Linked DNA regions of Homo sapiens: region 1 is linked to region 2. Evidence: promoter capture Hi-C in human tissues and cell types (Jung and others, 2019). All regions are on one chromosome and are shown on one strand. The core of a region is centred on a gene start or on the middle of the fragment in contact, and the rest is flanking DNA. Distances in the headings are between cores, read along the strand shown. Region 1 overlaps ALKBH5 (alkB homolog 5, RNA demethylase). Region 2 holds the start of MYO15A (myosin XVA).

Region 1 (6,501 bases), core at 192-2,691, 83 kb after region 2:
GAGCCTGAGCTCACAATCCTGCCCCTGGGTCCAGGTGGCTGGTCTGCTGCCCCCAAAAGCCTGACCTTCTTGGTCCTGTGGGTCTGTCAGTAAGGCAGGTAGCCATAGCTGGAGAGAGACAGTCACCAGGCTGGGATCTTGGACAGTCCCTCCATCTCTGGTTCATCCTGGCCTAGGCAGGGCATGGAGTAGATGGAAAATGGTGGCCATCTTGGAAATGTGTCATAACAACTCAGTTTCCAAGACCGTCCCCTAGAGGAGAGATGTACAGTCCTGCATAGTTTCTTTAAAGAATTTTTCAGGGCCAGGTGCGGTGGCTCATGCCTGTAATCCCAGCACTTTGGGAGGCCAGGGCGGGTGGATCACCTGAGGTCAGGAATTCAAGACAAGAATGGCCAAGATGGTGAAAGCCCGTCTCTACTAAAAATACAAAAATTAGCCGGGCGTGGTGGCAGGCACCTGTAATCCCAGCTACTCGGGAGGCTGAGGCAGAGAATTGCTTGAACCCAGGAGCTAGAGGTTGCAGTGAGCCAAGATTGCGCCACTGCATTCCAGCCTAGGCAACAGAGTGGGACTCTGTTTCCGAAAAAAAAAAAAAAAAAAAAAATTTCAGACACCTCATTTAATTTGCACCTAATCTTCTGAGGAGGGGCTTGCTGTGATCTTTGTTTTGCAGAGGCAGAAACAGGTTCTAAGTGGTAGAATAGTTCAGCTCAACACACATTTCATTTAGTGTCCACTGTGCAGGGATGAGTAAGGCCTTTGAAGAGCTTTGTCTTGAAGGGAAGACACAATTTCCACAAGGCCAGATGGAATAGCAAAGAGGCATGAGAGGGTGTGGTTGAGCAATGTAGGGGGAACCCAGCCTGGGCAGTCAGGGAAAGGCCCCCAAAAGAGGAGATAGACATGTCAGCTCCTTCGAGAGTCACTCTGAGGTATAGGACTAGTGGGTGACATTTGCAACATATACTGGTCAGTGCCTCTGGGGCTGGGGCTGGGGGCTCAGCCCAGAGAGGGAGCAGGCAAGCCAGATGGCATAAGGTTATTTCCTCTTCTCCTTTCCCTGTGAAAACAAAAAAGCAGGAGGTCCTGGAACTTTTCATGCCAGCAGTAGGGCTGGACCCAAGGGCATATTAAGTTGCAAGCTGGCCGACTGAGACTTTCAGACAATTTATTTTGTAGCAAGTAGGTTCCTTAATAGTAAATAATACCCTGTGGTCTCTGCTCGACATTTTGTGAGATTGGCCAGGAGAGCTTCCCTTAATCAGGACTTTGAGCTCATGTTGCCAGAGCAGCCGGATATTCTGAGGAAAGGGTCAGTGGGCTGTGTCATAGCTGCTAGGAAGTTCTAGAAGACCAGTACTAATAAGCCTTCCAGGTTGGGTCAGTGCCAAAGTCATTTTTGTGGGCCTGTGCAGCCCTACCTCCATACTAGTTCTTCCAAGGCCTGGGCTCCGTGGCAGGAACCTGACATGGCTTATTGTTTGTTCTAGAGCCCTTTGGGGGATGGGGTCAGGGAGCATGCGGGCAGTCAAGCTTTGACAAACATCTGGATTTGCTCCAGAACTGCATTAAGAAAAGTGGTTCCTTGTTGGAGATGGGAAGTCAGGGCCCTTGGTTATGCATATAGCCAAGTCAAACAGATTGATAACACTTGTCAATGGCAGGGAAGGTTGCCTGTAGCCAGCACTGCAGATTCAGGACTTAGAAACGTGCCTCTGGGGCCGAGCATGGTGGCTCACACTTGTAATCCCAGCACTTTGGGAGGCCGAGGTGGGTGGATCACGTGTGATCAGGAGATCGAGACCAGCCTGGCCAACATGGGGAAACAGTCTTCACTAAACATACAAAAATTAGCCTGTAGTCCCAGTTACTTGGGGGTCTGAGGCAGGAGAATTGCTTGAACCTGGGACGTGGAGGTTACAGTGAGCCAAGATCATGCCACTGCACTCCAGCCTGGGCAACAGAGTGAGACTCTGTCTTTAAAAAAAAAAAAAAGTGCCTTTGAGACCTTTGACAGCTCTTTGGGAAAGTATTGTGTGTCTATATGGGACAGTCTTGCAGTCTAGACCCCCATTCCCCCAGTGTGGAATGATAAAAGCATGGGATGAGAACTAGAGTTCCTAGCTCTGGAAATGGGGCCCAGGCGGCCCCCACTACTGGCAGATCCCTGCAGGGGGAGCCCAGACCATGTCTCTTTGGCAGATGCTGAATCCAGGGCTCTGGCTTGCCCCAGGATAGTCCAGGGCCCTCTGACTTTTGTCAGAGTGCTTAGTAAAGATTGTAGGGTGTCAGGCACCCTGCATTATCTGACTTAATTCTCGCAATACCCCTGCAGGTAGGCCTCTCACCACCCCTTTCCAGGAGTGTCAACCAAGTAGTCATATAATGCTGTTTTTCTGCCTGGAAGGGAGGAGGCCCCGTTTTTAAAATCTTGTAATCTTAAAAACTTTAATCTTGTAATCTTTAAAACTGTCCCCATTTTTAAAATCTTGTAATATTAGTAGCAGCAAAAGAATAGCTAAATTATAAAGCATAACAAAATGAATACCCAAGAACCTACTGTTCTCCTTATTACAGATGAAGAAACTGTACAGGTTTTTAGGTTCAGCATGTGATTTAACAAAGGTCACAAAGCTAGTAGGAGACAAAGCTCACATTTGAACCCAGGTCTCTTCAACTCACTAACTCCTGTGTGGTACTTCTCACTGTGGGCTGATGGGTATTAATAGGTATTATGAGAGAAGGTTCTTTGGTAAGTGCTCAAAGTCAGTGGGTTCTTTTGCTGTAGTAATTCTCATGTGCTTTAAATATATTAATGCTTTTTGAAACTCTAATCAGTATTTTACAAATTGATTTCACTGTAGACATTCGTCCACTGTCTTTTTCTTTTTTTTTTTTTTTTTTTTTTTGAGACGGAGTCTCACTCTGTCACCCAGGCTGGAGTGCAGTGGCACTATCTCGGCTCACGGCAACCTCCACCTCCCAGGTTCAGCGATTCTCCTGCCTCAGCCTCTGCGATAGCTGGAATTACAGGCACCTGCCATCATGCCTGGCTTATTTTTGTATTTTTGTAGAGACGGGGTTTCACCATGTCGGCCAGACTGGTTACGAACTCCTAACCTCAGGCAACATGCCCACCTTGGCCTCCCAAAGTGCTGGGTGGGATTACAGGCGTGAGCCACCGTGCCTAGCCTGTCTACTGTCTCTTATGGGACTGGTGTTCATGGAGAAAATTTTGAAAAATTCTTGTCTAGGAGCAGCTTGAGGGAGAAGGTGGATCTATAAAATAAAGGTTTGGGCCGGGCGCGGTGGCTCACACCTGTAATCCCAGCACTTTGGGAGGCCGAGGCTGGCGGATCACGAGGTCAGGAGTTCAAGACCATCCTGACCAACATAGTGAAACCCCATCTCTACTGAAAATAACAAAAATTAGACAGGCGTGGTGGGGTGCGCCTGTAGTCCCAGCTACTTGGGAGGCTGAGGCAGGAGAATCGCTTGAACCCGGTAGGCAGAGGTTGCAGTGAGCCGAGATTGTGCCACTGCACTCCAACCTGGGTGACAGAGTGAGACTGTCTCAAAAAAAAAAAAAATTAAATAAAATAAAGGTTTGTTCTATCCCCAGCATGAGCTCAAATCAGATTTCCAAATCAGAGGTGCTTCCTTAAGGCTGAGCCTGAAGCAGTCTGGCTTTTTATCTCTTGTTGGCTCTTGCATCCAGTTATTAGAGCTGAGGTTTGGCCAGCCTGGCCATCTTGAGGGGTCCTTCCCAGGCCTGCAGTGTTTTTAATAGTTAAGTTTGTGTCTGTACAACTAGCCTTTGAGAAGGGAGCTGATCAGCAGCCATGAGAGAAGGGTTTGTGGTACAGGGCCAGGTAGGGAAACTAAGCCATACTTGTCCTACTAGGCTTGTGGCTGAGTTTCTGGGTGTGTAGAACTGCTGCAGCTCAGTAGAGTAACTTGGAGTGGGAGTATCTTGTGGCTGCCATGCTTCCAGTGATAGCATGTGAGGGGTATAGGAAGCTCAGAGCTTGCTTCCAGAGTTTCAAATTGGAATGACGCTAGCTGAGAAGAGGACAGTCATCTACCCACATTAGTTGGTCTCTGAGCGGTTTTAAAAGTCATGTAACTTGTTGAAAATAAACAGATATCTGAGTATGATGGAAATCCTTTTTTTTTGGGCGGGGGGCAGGGGGTGGGGGTCAGTGGTGGGGACAGAGTCTCGCTCTGTTGCCCAGGTGCAGTGGGCGTGATCTTGGCTCACTGCAACTTCTGCCTCCTAGGTTCAAGCGATTCTCCTGCCTCAGCCTCCCAAGTAGCTGGGATTACAGGCGCCCACCACCATGCCTGGCTAATTTTTGTATTTTTAGTAGAGATGGGGTTTCGCCATGTTGGCCAGGCTGGTCTCGAACTCCTGATTTCAGGTGATCCGCCCACCTCGGCCTCCCAAAGTGCTAGGATTACAGGCATGAGCCATCACGCCCAGCCGGAAATTCTTAAAATATTCAAACACAACTGTCTTCAAAATTTTGGATCCCCCCAAATGGAGACTTCATGTAGATATTCTATTTTGGAATGAGGCAGTCCTAGCTCTCCCTGGTGACTCAGTGCTATCAGTGGCTGCCTTGGCTTTCTCTACCTGCTAAATGGAGGGAGAATGAGGAGGAGCTACAGTGTACTCTCTGGAGTACCCTTTTAAAAAAGGGTTCCTGGCCTGTTCAGGGAGAGTCTTGCTTCCAGCCTCTGCCTTAAGTGGCCAAGGGGTCTCCTTTGTGTCATACCAGGTTTTTCCTTGAGTATTACAGTCTCTTGGCAAAAGCATCCTGGAACTTAATATGATATTCCCTTCCATGTAGATCCTTGAAACTCTCAAGTAATGGGTAGAGAGCAGCCGTAAGACCTAGGCCATGTTCCTGTCCTGTTATATCCCCCAGGAACTTTGGTTGTCTGTCTACTCTTCATGGTCACATGTTCTGTGTTTCTTTTCAGTGGATATGCTGCTGATGAAATCACTCACTGCATACGGCCTCAGGACATCAAGGAGCGCCGAGCAGTCATCATCCTCAGGAAGTAAGTGCCTTGATGTCTGACCTTCTGCCTCACCTGCAGGCCTGTCTGGAGATGTAGCTCTGGGTCCACTTAGAACTCAGCTCCTATGTATCAGTGGCATGGCAGAGTGGAGAGCAGAACTGTTAAGTTCTCTTTTTATTTGAATCCTGTGAGGATAAAGTTGTTTTGTTGTTTTATCAGAAAATTAAGTACTCTATTTAGGGAGTTTAGGACTGAGCAAAAGCATATACGCCCAATATTTGTGGGTATAATCTTGAGACAAGATTTGGGCAACATTCTTCCAAACCTCACCCCACCCCTTAGCCTCTATTCCTCACCTCCTTCGTTCTTATTTGTTACACGTACTCTTGGTGATTATTTTTAGACTGTGCCTTTAGCAGCCTGCTTTAAAAATGCCTGGGTTTTCACTGCTGGAAGGAACAGGGAGTGAAGAGAGGAGACAAGGGTGGGAGGTTAGGATGTAGTATTCGGCAGAATCATGGCTTGTGGCTCTTCTCTGGGGAGGGAATCAGGGATGTGCTACTTAACATCAACAAACCTGGCTTCACCAGCATTTATTTCTTTCACGGGGTGAGTGGAAGAAGCCATAGCCTCACAGACATTGGATCAAGACAAGCCTTGCCCCACTGTCCACCCATCTTGCTCAGGCTGGAATGCAGTGGTGCCATCATAGCTCACTGCATCCTCAAAGTCCTGGACTCAAGCTCTCTTCCTGCTTCAGCCTCCCCAGTAGCTGGGAATAGAGGCAAGTGCCACCATACCTGGTTCACGCCTACCTTTTGAATAGAGTCCCAGAGAAGATAGGTGATTGCCCAGAGTCATAGAAGTCAGTGAGCAGAGCAAAACAAGCACGTAAACTTAGGCTTGACCCATAAAACTTGCTGTCTGTCGTCTTCTTCCTTCCTTCCTTTTATTAAACTTTATTTTTTAGAATAGTTTTAGATTTACAGACAATTGTGATAGTACAGAGTTCTCATGTACTCTGCATCCCATTTCTCCTATTTGTTAATTTTTTATTGGTATGACTAAAGTCCATACTTTATTTAGATTTCCTTAGGTTTTTCCTAATGTCCTTTTTCTGTCCCAAGATCATCCTACGTTACATTTAGTTGACATATCAACTCAGACTCCTCTTAGACTCCTCTTGGCTGTAACAGTTTCTCAGACTTTGCCTTATTCTTTTTTTTTTTTTTTTGAGACAGGGTCTCACTCTGTCGCCTAGGCTGGAATAGGCGGGAATGCAGTGGCACCATCTCGGCTCACTGCAACCTCTGCGTCCCAGGTTCAAGTGATTTCGTGTCTCAGCCTCCTGAGTAGCTGGGACTATAGGCGTGTGCCACAACACCCAGCTAACTTTATTTTTTCGTACAGATGGGGTTTCCCCCATGTTGGCCAAGCTGGTCTCTAACTTCCAACCTCAAGTGGTTCACC
Region 2 (6,699 bases), core at 3,976-6,475:
TAATCACACATGCTGCAACCCTCCACAGAGCACAGGCTTGCCAGCCCCTAGGAGAGATGCTGACCCTGGTTGAGTGTGACCATGATTGGTGCCCAGAGGCACTGGCAGCAGAAACATCAGGCTGCCATCATAGTAATGGGCTTGTTTCCCTGTGGGTACCAGCGGGCCACCTGGCCAGTGGAGGTTATCCGCTCCAATAGTGAGAAGTGGAGACCCCAGCCTCTGAATTCACAGGGGCCCCTGCCTGACTGGCCGCCTCCCTCTTTGCAGCTGCGGCATGAAGCTGAACCTGGACTATCTGCTGGAGATGCTTTGGGAGTACTTGGCCCTGACCTGCATCTACACCAAGAAGAGAGGACGTGAGTTGCACTGCGCGTAGCTGAAAAACAGGCTGAGCTTCATCCCTAGAAGGCTGCCAGGCCGGTGTGTGGTGCCCAGAGACCCCAGCACCGGCTCTGGCCTGGCTTGTCTAGACACACCTCAGCTCTTTTCCCTTCTCAGCACTGGGCACTGCTGGTTTTGAGGGTACCCTGGTGGGGCAAGGCTACCTTGGGGTCCCCACTGGCTGTAGCAGTCAGTGCCCTCCTGACCTCCCCTCACAGTGACAGGCCCTACCGCAGGAGCATTAGGGACCTGAATCCACAGGAGCCATCCCCATGTCTAACTCCTGCCCATCCTCCTGGTGCGCACACACACATGCCCTGGGGTCCCAACAGCTGAATTCGGAGCAGTTTGCATCAACCCTGACTTTGGCAAGGAGTGAGCTACAGCTTCCCTCACTAGACTCCAGCATCCCTTTGCGCCCTGCCCGTTCAGTCCAGGTCCTGGTCTCTGTCAGTGCTGTCACAGCAGATGGGTGGCAGGCACTGTGAATCCTAGACGTGATTTATTTTGAGTCACTGTGTTAAGATCAAGGTCGTAGAAGATGGTACAGGGATCTATGTGGAGGGTGTGCTGGATGTCAGGGGGAGGTTAGGCCAAGGCAAGGAGACCGAAAGGGCCTCTGTGGCCAGCTCTTCCCTCGCGCAGAATCACAAGATGGCAGTGTGGGCCCTGATGTGTGGCTGACGTTCTCCCCATCCTGCCCTGCAGAGAGGCCAGACTTCACAGACGCCATCATTCTCCGGAAAGGGGCCTCAGTGGAGCACGTGGTGAGTTGACAAGACCTGCCGTGACAAGGGGTGGGAGCTCTGCATGCCCTTTGGGGCTCTGTTCTGCCTGAGGTGCCCTGGGCTGGGGGTGGGCTCTGCTGGTCTCACTCTCAGATGTCAACGCAGGCTCTGGAGTTGGACAGCCTGGGGCTGCGTCTGCAGCACCCCTTCTTAGCCATGTGCCGAGGCTCTGACCTCTACTGTGAGGGGGGTGTGCTGCCTGCCCCCTGGATAGTCAGGAGGACACGTTGAATGAGGTCCAGTGTGTAGGGCACTCAGCATGCTGCCTGGCTTTGCAGAGATGCCAGTAACCCTGCTTCCATGCCATTCAGGCATCAGTCAAGGAGAGTAGGGAGTGGCACCAGCTTAACACAGAGGTCAGGACAGCGGCTTCAAGGAGGCAACCTGAGCCGGCTTATAGGACTAGTGGGTCTGGCAGTGAAGAGTTGGGGTGGGGAGCATCCCAGGTAGGGGAGCAGGCATGCACAGGCCCCAGGGGAGGTGGTCTGGGCTCAGGGAGCAAGAGGCTGCCTTTCCCTGTCCAGGATTCTGTCACCTGAACATGACCCTGCAGGCACAGATGGTGGCCAACCTTCAGGTCACATGGCCGTCCTCCTGGGCTGATGCTTTCCTGGTGTTGTTTTCCTCTAGCTCATTTCTTCTTGGGATCTGTATCCTGGAGGCAAGGGATGCTGTAGACCCAGCTGTCCCTGCAGCCCCTTAGGACAGTGGTGGCAGGGCCTGTAATCTGGTCTCATGCATTCATTCATTCCGCAAGCCCAGCCCCAGGTCTCTGAGTGCCACCCTAGAGGTGTTAAACAAAGGAGGCCAGGCAAAGTCCCATCTCCCTCAGGGCCTAGGCTTGAGATCACAGCAGGAGGAGCCAAGGAGACTCACGATTACCCTCCTGAATCCCTTCAGTCACTCACAAGTGGCAATGCTGGGCAAGCTGAGTAAAACAAAACCCATCTGCAGACCAGAGTCAGCCACCTTCCCATCTGTGTCAAGGAAGTGTTCCTGCAGGCCTGGCGCCGGCCTCCGCCCCAGGGACGCTGGGCTGAGGTGTTGGGTCTCCCACCAGGGCCTGGAAGACCTGTGGGCATGTGGGAGGAGGAGTCACATTGCACAATTGCAGAGTCCCCTCCCCACCGCCCTCCACTGTGCCACCATCAGCGTGGCAACCAGAGGTCTACACTCTCAGGGCAATTGCTGGCTGCCTCCTCCAGGGTCTCCTTCCAGTTTTATATGACATCTGGGACCCCTGGGATCTTCACCCCTACCAAGGAGCACTGAAGTTTATACACTGCCCTGGGAGTTGGGGGTGATGTGATGTGTGGGAAGCTTCAGGCCACAGGTGGGGCCAGGAGGAGTGAGAGATGGTGACCAAGCAGGGGGGACTCCAAGCTATCACCCTGTCCCATTCTAAAGGAGCATCTGTTCAGGCAAGGCAAGCAGAGGGCCACTAGCAGCCAGGCCCCTGACCTTCCCCTGGTGGCTTTGGGAACATTCCTAACTATGCACCACAGCTGGCAGATCAGGAGTGGGAATGGCAGGGCCACCTGCAGCTGTGATTGGGTGGCTATGTGCGAATTGAGCACGTCAGTCCTCCACACAAGGCCCAGACTGTGTGGGCACCTGCCGCGGGAACTCCTGCCTCTTGGCCTGTGTCCTGAGCTTTGGGTGTGCAGCCAAGCTTGGGATGGGGTTAGGTGAAGCCTCACCTCTCTACCTGACTCTCTCCTGTCCTCCAGTGCCACCGCATCCACCGGTCACTCGCCAGCCAGTTCAAGTACGCCCTGGTGTGGGTGAGTCTCTGGGTGGAAAGCAACCAGGGGGGTAGACCCAGGACAGCCCCTGGGTTAGGCATGAAGCAAGGCATTCACACTCTCTGCGTGGTGTTCCTGTCCTTCCTGTGGGGATTGGCATGTCTGTGTGTCTGTCCTCCATAGAATGTACATGCCAACCCAGGGTAGACATGGGCCTTCCCCACCCTTTTTTTTTTCTGGTTTTTTTTTTTTTTTTTTTTTGAGACAGGGTCTGGCTCTGTCTCCCACGCTGGAGTGCAGTGGCACGATCATGGCCCAGTGCAGCCTCGACATCTGTGCAAAAGCGATCCTCCCACCTCAGCATCACAAGTAGCTGGGACTACAGGCACACACCACCATGCCTGGCTAATTTTTCATGGAGACAAGGTTTCGCTATCTGGCCCAGGCTGTCTCAAACACCTGAGCTCAAGTGATCCTCCCACCTTGACCTCCAGAAGTGCTGGGATTACAGGCATTAGCCACTGTGCCTGGCCCTCCCCAACCTTTGAGATCAGGGATGGTCAGACAACTGCGGACATCCTGCTGCCTGAGGCCCCCACCTTATGCCATGGCATTTACCCTTCAGGACACACACGCCCAGGGATATCTTCCTTGACCTTGGCCAGTCCAGGCTGAGGTGACCCCTCTGCCCCCATTCCTCACCCAGGGCACCAGCACCAAGTACAGTCCGCAGCGGGTGGGCCTGACCCACACCATGGAGCATGAGGACGTCATCCAGATCGTGAAGAAGTAACGGCGCCTGCCGGGCCTCCCGCCCACCTGCCTCGTCTCCCTGGGGAGGTGGTCCCACTGGGACACACAAACACCCAAACAGAAAAATACAAATACACGTACCCCAGGAAGGGGTCCCTCAAGTCTCTGCTATTTACAGAAGTTTCTTCAGTAGGCAGACGAAGAGTGTGTTGGGGCAAAGGGGCTCGGTTGGAGGCATTTCCCATAAGACTGAGCCCTCTCATGGGGGTTTTGAGTTTGTAGTGCTGAGCCTGCATCTGTGCCTCCCAGCCCCCTGCACTGAGGGAGCAAGTTGCCCACATGCCCGCCAGCCAGGGCCTAAAGCAGATGGCATGCTCAGTGCCAGGCTGGTAGCTGGGCCTGTTTGGGTCCCTGGAGGCTGTGGCTGCTGTCATGGCACCTCACTCCCTCAGCTCTTGCCAGCTTCTCTGACACTTGGGTTGGGGGCCCTTCCAGGAGGAAACCCCCTTGGGTGCCCCACACAGGGCTCTCCATGATGGGAACCAGTGGTTAGTGGCTTCAAAGGCCCAGCTGACACCCTCCACAGCCTAAGGGGTGTCCTAAAGTGCCTCCCCCTGTATTCCCCCTCCCAGGGCAGCCCCTGCCCAGCACAAAACCCCAGGACCCTGGCTCTGCACGCCTGGGGCAGGGACTTTTGAGTTTAGGATCTGTATTTTCTAAGTCCCCAGTTCTCCTGGCTCTCCTTTCTGAAATAAAGGATTGAAAACGGTTCCTGTTCAGACTGAGAACACTTTGTAAACTTGCTGAACAGTAGCCAGGTTGAGTCAGGTGGGCACAGGTCAGACATTGGGCCTGGGGGTCGGAGAGGGTGCAGCCTGGGCCCCAAGGCAGACCCAGGCCTTGTGTGGCAAGGAGACTGCAGGGTTCCTCACCCAGGCACAGGCAGGCTCTGCCCAGGGGGTTGGTGTTCGGGGGTGTCAGGCCCAGACTGGCCCCTCCGGAGGGGCCTGGCTGCCAAGGTGGGCAGCATCCCAGGAGGCCCTTGTGACCATCTGGGCTGGCAGGGAGGCTCTGTGAGAACAAGGTGGCGGGTCATTTCCTGTTGCCTCAGAAGTCAGGAGTAGAGGGGCTGGCAGGGGCTCGATGAGTGCCTACCGTGTGCCAGGGACTGTGCCAGGCCCCCCACAGTGTTCTGCTGTCCCCCAGAAGCTGGTGTAGGCTGCACAGTTTGTGAGTGCAGACCCCGGATTTAAGACCTCTGAGCAGCGGGGAAGGCTTCCTGGAGGAGGTATGCCTTTTGAGATGGATGCAGCAGGTTCTGTGAGGCTGCCAGGAGGGGTAGAGTTCCCGGGGGCCTCGGGCCCCGCTGGAGTGTGGAGCAGGCCCATGCTCAGCTCTCCAGGCTGTTCGTGGCTCCCCTGTCAGCTGCTCACTCCTTTCCAGAGACAAAACAGGAATAATAGACATCATTAAATATACATAGGGCCCCAGGCGGTCGGCGTGGTGGGCTGGGCCTCCCTTCCCCATAACACTGAGCTGCTCTGCTGGGCCAACCGTGCTCCTGGGCCAGCCAGAGGACCCCCATGAGGCGGCATGCAGGCGGGGAGCAGGCCACAGAACGCAGGTAAGGAGACCTTAGCCTAGAGTCCTTGGGGTCTGTCACTGGCCACCCTCGCATCCCAGGCTGCAGGGGTGATAAGGGAAGGGGCAGCAGCAGAGCTGGGGCCTCGCCCCTAACTCATCTTGAGGCCCTTCTCTGCCTCACTTTGTTCATCTGTGAGGGGTGTGATGCCCATGCAGTCCCCTCCTGGCGATGGTGGGATACCAAGACAGGCAGGGCCTCTGTGGCTTACCTCGGCCCCTCTCCTGACTGTCCTGATGCCTGGCCATGAGGCCCTAAGTGAGGGTTTCTGCCTGGCTGGTGGCCATTCCCACTTCCACTTTACAGGTAGGGGCTCTGGGCCCAGGGTGAGGTAGGGAAGGCCTTGAGTTCACAGGGTGTCAGGGTGAGTCCAGACCTTGGATTAGATCCAGACCTGTTTTGTCCCCAAGGCTGGCTGGCAAAGGGTGGGAAATGAGGCCAGAGGCTGGGGGTCCTCAGGCAGTGAGGGCTCAGGTGAGAGGCTCCAGCCACTGGGCCACAAGTTCCTCACCGTGGATGGGCTTGTTCCTGGGCTAGATCTGTGTGCGCGTGGATCAGGGCAGGCACTGCGGCTCTGTTATGTCCTGGGCTTTCTGGATCTGTGGTCAGGATGGTTGCGCAGTCTACATTTGCTTGTGAGAGAGCGAGCAAGGGATCCTGCAGCTGCGTATGCCCAGGTCAGTGTGAAGTGGCAGCTTGCGGTGCCTTTAGGGCTGGGGAAGCTCCCTAAGACCCCCCAAAGGTCTCTGACCCTCCCATCCCCGCACCTGGGTAAGCTCCAGGCTTGGGCCTCACCCTGTCAGCCACCTTGTTCTCATCACCCTCCCTGATGATCACAGGCAGGGGTCTGCACCCTCACTCAGGCCCATGCCCAGGCAGCAGAGTTGCATTCATCTCCCAGCTGGCATCCCTGCAGCCTCCCGGGGGTAGTATGGCCTGCAGCTTTAGAAGACTCAGGTACATAGGAGCCAAAGACATGAATATTCATCTATCTGTCCCACACGTGTGCGTTCACTCATTCTCCGTCTTTCTTCCTCTCCAGCTTAGATTCCACAGTTTCTCATTTCGGAACCCTCCTTTGGCAAGAAAGCCGAGTCGAGACCCTCTCCTTCCCACTCTGTCCCTCTCCTAGACAGCTCACCTGACCTCCAGCTTCCATCTCGCCAGACCTGGGTCCGAGCAGCCTTTTTGACTCTCCACTGCACTGTCCTGTAGCCATCCCAAGCCCACCGTGTCCCAGACCAAACATGGCGTTCCCATACCCCCGGCCTCACCTCAGAGACACTCCCCGCACCCCCCAGCTGCACCAAGCCAACCCCAAGACTACTTGTCTCCACCCTCATCCCAGCCCCATCTAGCCTCTCACCAGGGCCAGCCTGTTTCACCT

What was found. The method cuts DNA at HindIII sites, captures the fragments that hold promoters and counts their contacts. A contact is called where the count stands out against the background at its distance.
Region 1: a contact is called between a fragment that was not itself captured here and the fragment with the promoter of MYO15A in region 2, in 5 of the 25 tissues and cell types used here (liver, lymphoblastoid cells, mesendoderm cells and 2 more).

Annotation. Positions count from the first base shown.
Region 1 is chr17:18,189,966-18,196,466 of GRCh38, forward strand. It overlaps ALKBH5 (alkB homolog 5, RNA demethylase), which reads left to right. Exons shown (of 4, transcript NM_017758.4): 2 at 4,990-5,070. Among named protein-coding and RNA genes, the nearest start is that of ALKBH5, 9.4 kb to the left of the region's middle. The HindIII fragment of the contact is 6,402 bases long and covers 1-4,642 here.
Region 2 is chr17:18,103,531-18,110,229 of GRCh38, forward strand. MYO15A (myosin XVA) reads left to right here and starts at 5,226. Exons shown (of 66, transcript NM_016239.4): 1 at 5,226-5,294. DRG2 (developmentally regulated GTP binding protein 2) reads left to right here. Exons shown (of 13, transcript NM_001388.5): 10 at 271-359; 11 at 1,093-1,151; 12 at 2,903-2,956; 13 at 3,624-4,439. The coding sequence ends at 3,710. LOC105371566 (a long non-coding RNA gene) reads right to left here. Exons shown (of 3, transcript NR_164159.1): 3 at 4,161-5,105. RefSeq lists an enhancer at 3,522-4,169. The HindIII fragment of the contact is 16,274 bases long and covers 2,669-6,699 here.